Linked DNA regions of Homo sapiens: region 1 is linked to region 2. The links are contacts of gene promoters, found by promoter capture Hi-C in blood cells and fetal thymus (Javierre and others, 2016). All regions are on one chromosome and are shown on one strand. The core of a region is centred on a gene start or on the middle of the fragment in contact, and the rest is flanking DNA. Distances in the headings are between cores, read along the strand shown.

Region 1 (4,014 bases), core at 343-2,842, 540 kb after region 2:
ATTTCTTAACATCTCCCTTTCTCCTACTGGCTGCAGCCCATCCATCACCAAGTCTTCTCAGCATGTCCTTCTTTCTATTTCCATGACCGCTTCTTTAACTCAGGTCTACACCTCTTCTCACCTGTAATGCTGCAAAAGTGCTCCTGGTCTCAGTGATTCTAGGCTGCTCCCCATCCATCCAGCCCTCATAGTACTGCCAATGGGTTTCCTAAAGTGCAAATCTGACCATTCACACCCCTGCGTGAAGTCCTCCAATAGCTCCCTTTCAATGTCAAGTTCAAACCTTGTAGCTCAGCACACAGACCCCTTGGCTGTCCCCACCTCTCTAACCTCACCTCCGGTCATCTTCCTGTATTCTCCTGAAGTTCCAGCAATACCAAACTACTTTGCAACTCCCAAATTTCCATGTTGCTTCTTGCCTCTCTACCTCCTCATTGCTCCTTCATTGGCCTGAGATGCTCTTGCACATCCCTTCTTTTTCCAGCTACTTCTTAATTGTTCTTAAAACTTAGCTCAAAAATTACATCCTTAGAGAAGTTTTCTGGGCTCTCTGTTCCCCAGTGTTCCACCTATGCCCTTACCACATAACTGTGAGGTCCTTGAGGGTAGGAACCATGTTTCGTTCATATTTATATTTTCAAAACTCCACACAGACCTCTGTTGAGCTCAGTAACTGAGGAAAGACTGACTACTGCCTTGAGTATATCTGTGTTCTGTAGCCTGAAGTTTACACAAAAAGCTTGACACCAACCATTATGGCAAACCTAAATATCCCAATTAAAGGGTGAAAAAGTAGTTAAAGCTTTAGGAGAACCCATGACTATAATGCAACACAGCATTTAATGTCTTTGACACTGTACAACAGGCCAGTGGCCTACGTACCAATCATGGCAACAGCTGCCTCTGCTTCCAAACAAACCGATGTTAGGCAAACAGTGCTGTGTGTGACCAGGTCCCCCTTCTCTTTCTCATAAGGAGCAGCACATGCTCCATTTTCAGAAAAAAATAATCTGCCTTCTTTACTCTGTCAGTCTTTCAAAGGATGTTGGAAGTGTTCTGTTAGGAAAAGCCATGATGTAATTAAAAGAAATTGCCAGCTCACAGAAGCTGTCAGCTCAATCCCACTTCTGTGGCTACCAGCCTTGCCCCGCTGAGAACAGTGAATCAGGCCCAAGAGGGGCTGCTCAGCTCTTTTTCAGGGGGAAACTCCGTCACTCAGAAGCCTACCCCTGCCTGGGAGTTTGGCCGATTTGCACACTTTAACTTCCTTTATTTGTAAAGGGAGGAAAGAGAATGGACATTCCCCTTAGGAACTTCGCAGTGAGCCAGGCCAACTCTGTACCGAGGCTGTTTGCATGCAGCAGTCCTTCCATTTCATTTACCTACCAGTCCACAGCTTTCCCTTCTTCATTTCTGCATGAAATTGTTGCTGCCCCCAGCACCCCAAAGAGGCCAAGGAAGAGCAAAGCAAAGGATGTTCTTAGCAGTCTTGCCATCATTTTCTGTTTCATTTATTTCATGCCACAGCAGGACACTTTCCCCATAGATTGTGGAGTCTGAGTTTCAAGGCGCTCTCAGGCTGTGCTGGCTCTGACGTTTGATTTGATTTACCTGTGCTGTTCGCTGTTCGGGGCATTTTCAGAGTGGGATGGATCCCATGTAATTGTGCGATTCTGTCACAACATGCCAGCGTGACTCTGGATGCCTTTGTGCTGAATTGTTGACTGGTTTGCAAAGTCATCAAAAAGTTCTGCAGAAAAATAGGGAAAGATAGTTCACTCTTTGGAGTGAACATTGTTGTATGAAATTCATTGGGCAGGGGGACTTCATTTTAATAAGTAGATGTTAAATATATTTCATGTCTTCTCCTGTTTGACTCAATGAATGAGAGCAAATGCAGGTGGTTCGTACATTAAACAGAAATGATAAAACCTTATGTCTTAGTAATAATTAGGATCTGTCACTTAATAATCTCTGTCTTAAGGAACCAGTTGCTAAGGGATACTTCAAAGGGTTGCTTCAAAGTAACAGTAAATTTAACTGTATTTTACCAAAGATGTTTACATATTCTCTCCATCTTCCTGGTTTTAGCCACTCAATGTGGTGCTTCAGGCTGCTATGCAATAGGTAAACATATTGATCACCCACTCTTCAGGTTAATAAAAAATGTTACAAACATCTATTTTGCCCAAACTATGCTTTCTCATTCTCGAAGCTGAATCTGAAGTAGAAAACCAAAATAAAATGGCCCACTACCATAACAACTATAAAAAGGTGAGACCAATTTCTTTGTGAATCAGGGAAGGAGTAGATAGACATATGAAAATAATTTCTTTAATGCATACTTTTGCATCAATTATTAAAGCTGCCATCATAATAAATAGCAGTTTACATCATGCCTGGAAATAATGCTGCCCCTAATCTGTCTCTCTGATAATCACAATGATAACTATAATAGTTCCAGATCAGAGGATCCAGACCAAACTGAACCCTTGTAAATCAGATTACCTCTGTGGTTGCACTAGAACTGTTCACAATTCTCAGGATTCATAGAAAAGGGGAAGGCTTGTGTCTCTATCCTAAGACAGAGTTTTGGGAGGAGGACTCTGTACCACCTGCCCAATTACCTGTGGTGCCTGCAAAAAAGGCAGAATTCTAGGACTTATTCCAAACCTGCTACATCAGAATTCTTCCAGTTGGGCTCAAGAATCTATATTTTTAATAAGCTTATTGGTGATGCTGGTGTACCCTAAAGTTTGAAACTCACTGCCCTGAGGCCAAGACTATGCTGTATTTGGTAGATTCACAGCTTTCTGCAGGTTAAATGAAGAAATATTTTTCTTACCCATTCCTCCATTGGTATTATTATTATTATTATTTTGAGATGAAGTTTTGCTCTTGTTGCCCAGGCTGGAGTGTACCCACCTCGGCCTGGGAATCCATCCACCTCGGCCTCCCAAAGTGCTGGGATTACAGGCATGAACCACTGTGCCTGTTCTCATTTTGTTTTATATATTTTCTTCCTGTGTTCAGAAAAAAGGATTTCAACAACCCCAACCTTTTTGTCAATTTTTAAAAGTTTTTTTAAAAATTATCAGCTGGACGCAGTGGCTTATGCCTGTAATCCCAAAACTTTGGGAGGCTAAGGCAGGAGGATTGCTTGAGCCTGGGAGTTCAAGACCAGCCGGGGCAACATAGCAAGAATGTATCTCTACAAACAATAAAAAAAAAATTAGTCGGGCATAGTGGCACATGCCTGTAGTCCCAGCTGTTCAGGAGGCTGAGGTGGGAGGATTGCTTGAGCCCAGGAAGTGGAGGCTGCAGTGAGCCATGATGGTACCACTGCACTTTTGCCTGGGTGACAGAGTGAGATTGTCTCAAATATATATATATATGTATGTATGTATGTATGTATGTATACTGAGAGAGAGAGAGAGAGAGAGAGAGAGAGAGAGAGAGAGAGAGAGAGAGATTACTCTTCTCTGTTAAAGTAAACACAGAGTCTTGCTGTGTCGCCCAGGCTGGAGTGCGGTGGTGCAATCTCAGCTCACTGCAACCTCCACCTCCCACGTTCAAGTGGTTCTCCCACCTCAGCCTCCTGGGTAGCTGGGATTACAGGTGCCCACCACCAGGCCCGGCTAATTTTTGTATTTTTAGTAGAGATGGGGTTTCACCTTTGGCCAGGCTGGTCTCAAATTCCTGACCTCAGATGATCTACCCGCCTCAGCTTCCCAAAGTGCTGGGATTACTGGTGTGAGCCACTGCACCAGGCCAAAATAATTTTATTTATTTACTTATTTATTTACCTGTGAGACTTTTTGGTATTACAACTAATAATAGAAACATACCAGTAGGATTCACTGATGCATTTAGAGAATGTAAGCAAATTGTTTTCAGTTATGTAGGGCTAAAGACAGTTTGTTGAGTAGGATTTAAAATCATTCCTTTTTTCTTCTCCTTATTACACTTAGCACAGTGCCTGGTAATAGTAAGTGATTCATAAATGTTAGCTAA
Region 2 (3,802 bases), core at 415-2,914:
TCAAGGTCACCTCATGGAAAATGAGGTTATTTGTTTTGTGAGCCTGACTGCATTTCCATATGTTCAATTTGTCCTTTCAAAGGATCCAGGTGAAACTGGGATGCTCTGAGCCAGCACTGTCCAAGAAAAATACAGTTTGGGCTACAATTGAGAGCCTTGCCTATACTGTAAAATTTTCTAGTAGCTACATGAAGAAATAAAAAAACAGATGAAATTATTTTTAATTATATATTTTAAGCCTAATATACCCAAAATATTATTTCAGCATGTATTCAGTATAAAATATTGAAATATTTTACATTCCTCCATACTAGTCTTTTTGATCTGGTGGATATTTTATCCACATAGCACGTCTCAATTTGGACTAGCTATCTATTGGATGCTGGCTATTCACACATTCCTGGTGACTACCACTATGGACATTGCAGCTCTAGACTTATGTCTTTCACTTAATGTTAGCTTTCCTTTATACCCCTGGAGGAGGGGAGGGATAAGGGATGTCTGTAGGGTTGCCTGCAGGTCTGTTTATGGCATCTCTCACCAGGCTGATATATTGGGGAAATACACAGCTGAGTTAATTCACTGAATGTACAAGTCAGTTGGGGGAGAGAACGTCAGTCTGGTTTTGGAACTTTGTGCTTTTCTTCACCATATTGCTGCCTCTTTGAATCTGAAGTTAGAATATTTTATTGCCCCTTGCATCCTTTCCCCCAAATTAATCCAAGCTGTCAGCATGTTCAGGTTCTGCCAGTATCTGAATCAGAGGACTTTCAGGTTACCTGAAGCCTTGAAAAGCTAGGCATTCCAAGCGGGCATTTTTGTGGGATTTTTAGAATCACAGCAACCTTGATTGTGAAAGCTAATTCTTTCTTTAAAACAAAACAACTAAAAAGGAGACATTAGGAAAACCGTTTGACTGATAGCTGGGGTCCCATAACACTTCAGCTTCCTATCTTCCTGTTAGGCATCTGATTTCAGGGGCTCAATGGAAAGGGAGTCAAGATGCAAAAGGCTTCCTGCTGATGTGTATTCCCAGCACTAATGGACTTTGGCACAGTGCCCTTTCAAAATGCCTGGGCACAGAGGGTGAGAGACTGTTGATGTTCTTCCAGACCTCATCTTGAATTATTAAACATTACTCTAATGCGGCTTTTACATTTCCAGAGGACTTTTTTTCCTGTGAGGAATAAATCATAGCCTTGCATTGTCCCCATTTTACAAATGAGAAGACCAAGACTTGAAAAGTTGTTGGACTTCACTGATGCCATGGGTCAAAGTTCAGCAGACTCTGCATTACATTTTCCTCCTTCCAAGCCCTCTGGTTTTAGCCAAGTACCCCTCAGCTAAAACATTTTGCCTAAAGTTTGCATGAGATTCTTGGCACCAGCTCTTAAAGCAAATATTTATGTTGTTCTCTGACATAAGCCATTGCAGGTTATGGTTTCATTGAAATTAAAGGTTTTTGGCCCAACTGCAAACTTATCATTTGTGAAATGAATGGTTGAGTTCTCATCGTGGGCCCAGAGAACCTATGGGGACTCTTTATGGAAATACCCATTTAATACGTATTAAATATCTACTGTGCACCCAACATTGCTAGGTTCTTGTAGACCAAGTTCTTGGAGGGAAGGAACTGTAGTTTGTTCCTCTTTACATTCCCAGTGTCCAGCACAGCACATAGACCATGGTAGGTGCCCAAAAAGTTTGTTTTGAACAAACAAGAAGCAGAGAGAGAGTAGTACCTGCTTTCCAGGGGCTTATGATCACTCAAGATCCAAAGGAATGCCTTACAAATGTGGTCCTTCTAGACTGGAAGCACATTAGGACCTTGAGTATTTTTAAGCTCACTTCTACTATGGAATTTGGCCACTGAAATAGACTCTGGTTCACAGCCACTTCTTGTACAAAATGGCAGGGTGTTACCAAACACCTAAAATTGACTGGGTCTCTGTTTTAACTCTTTGGTGTGTTAAAATAATTCTCATGTTCACAAGAGGAGGGGGAGGTAAAATGGTTATGAATAATGTTAATGTTGAGACAGATATTGTGTGTAGCCTGGTAAGTAACTAAACAGAAAATTAAAAAATGAATGTGACATGTACTGACAAACTAGCTATTTGCAGTTGAAACCTGAAGCACAGACAGTTGTGCTTGGAGTTAGGGGTTCTTGAAACTAGAGAAAGGAGTTGACTGGATTCCAAAAGAAACTAAGAAATGTGAATTATTAATGGTGCTGTCAGAGTTGTAGTTGACATCCATAGAAACCAACTTTAATGTCAATGTTTTCAGCTTTAACTTCAATGTTTTAAGGCTTGTGTAGCGTATGGAAAATATTTACTCTGGCAATCGCCTGTTTTACTGTTAAATAATCTACATATTGTTAAGTGATCTGTTCATTTGGATATTTCCTCTAGGTCTTTTTGGAGGAGGACTTTAGTTCATCAGAGTTTTTGCTGATGCAGCAAAGCCATGGGTGGGATCCTTGTTTGGGGTGCGTTTGTAGACCTTCTCCCTTGGCCACCAACTTTACCTTGCCTGGTCCAGCCACGTGGCTGGTAGTGTAAGGCACGGTGTTTGTATCTAGTTGGAGTACAGGGAAGTGTGTATAAAAACAATTAGAAGACCATAGTTCATTCTGTGATTCTTACCGATACGGAGTGCAGAGAAAGGACTAGAACTACCAGGGCACTTGGTCTTGAAGTACACTCTGAAATGACCCTTGAACATTGGCTTAATTGGACACAGAGAAGAGAAAGAAGAATAGAGCAGGTGAGGAGAATAAATTCCATGAGGGAAAAATGTAGGGATGGGCCTGGTGTTGGAGGAGAAGATAAGCACAGCATATTAATACTGTCAAGGAGGAGATGTGATGAGGCTGCATAAAGGAGGAACTTATCACAACCTTCTTGGTTTAGATTTTTATTTTGCATCCAAACTTTGTATAATCTCACAAGGGAGAAATGACCTGAAAGCCTTCTTCTTAAAGTACAGGTTTTACTGCAGCTTTGACTGGGGAGGGTAAAGAGATTGGAGTAAAAGAGACTTCCTTGGAAGTTTCTTTAATAATTCAGAAATTTGTGTTGACATCACAGTAGAGTAGTAAGGGTGGATTGGAGAAACATGTGATAGGAACAGACAGGCCTTAGAAGACTGAAAGCGGGGAAGAGTAATCAATTCAACACAGAGTTTTAAGGACTTAATTATTTCAGAGTAAATGTTTCTTTGGTAGGAGATTGGAATCACTGACAGAAATAGGGCAATTTAGAAAAAAAAGTTCATTTTTCTGGTTAGGGTGGTGAAAAGTTTTGTTTTGTTGGCATTTTCAAGGAATGGTCTGTTATATAACAAATGCCAGCTGAGCACAGTGGCTCATGCCTGTAATCCAAGCACTTTGGGAGGCTGAGGTGGGCGGATCACCTGAGGCCAGGAGTTCGAGACCAGCCTGGCCAACATGGTGAAACCCCATCTCTACAAAAAAATACAAAAATTAGCCGGGCTTGGTGGCAGGCACCTGTAATCCCATCTATTTGGGAGGCCGACACATGAGAATCGCTTGAACACTGGAGGCAGAGGTTGCAGTGAGCTGGGATTGCACTGCACTCCAGCCTGGGTGGCAGAGTAAGACTCTGTCTCAAACAAACAAACAAAACCTACAAATGCTCTCTAAGTGTAGAAAACATAAGAAGATGCTTATGTTAATTAGGAGAAAAACCAGGATCTAAACTTGTTAGATCCTGGTTTTAGATATATAAAAAGTACATAGGGAAAAACTGTGGGAATTGTTAAGAGATTAACTTTGAGA

What was found. The method cuts DNA at HindIII sites, captures the fragments that hold promoters and counts their contacts. A CHiCAGO score of 5 or more calls a contact.
Region 1: a contact is called between the fragment with the promoter of DNASE2B here and a fragment that was not itself captured in region 2, in 1 of 17 cell types (M2 macrophages). The highest score is 6.9, in M2 macrophages.

What each region holds. Positions count from the first base shown.
Region 1 is chr1:84,396,062-84,400,075 of GRCh38, reverse strand. DNASE2B (deoxyribonuclease 2 beta) reads right to left here and starts at 1,592. Exons shown (of 6, transcript NM_021233.3): 1 at 1,387-1,592. The coding sequence starts at 1,511. The HindIII fragment of the contact is 1,924 bases long and covers 805-2,728 here.
Region 2 is chr1:84,932,064-84,935,865 of GRCh38, reverse strand. The region is part of intron 11 of MCOLN2 (mucolipin TRP cation channel 2); the gene reads left to right. Among named protein-coding and RNA genes, the nearest start is that of LPAR3, 41 kb to the right of the region's middle. The HindIII fragment of the contact is 4,456 bases long and covers 1-3,802 here.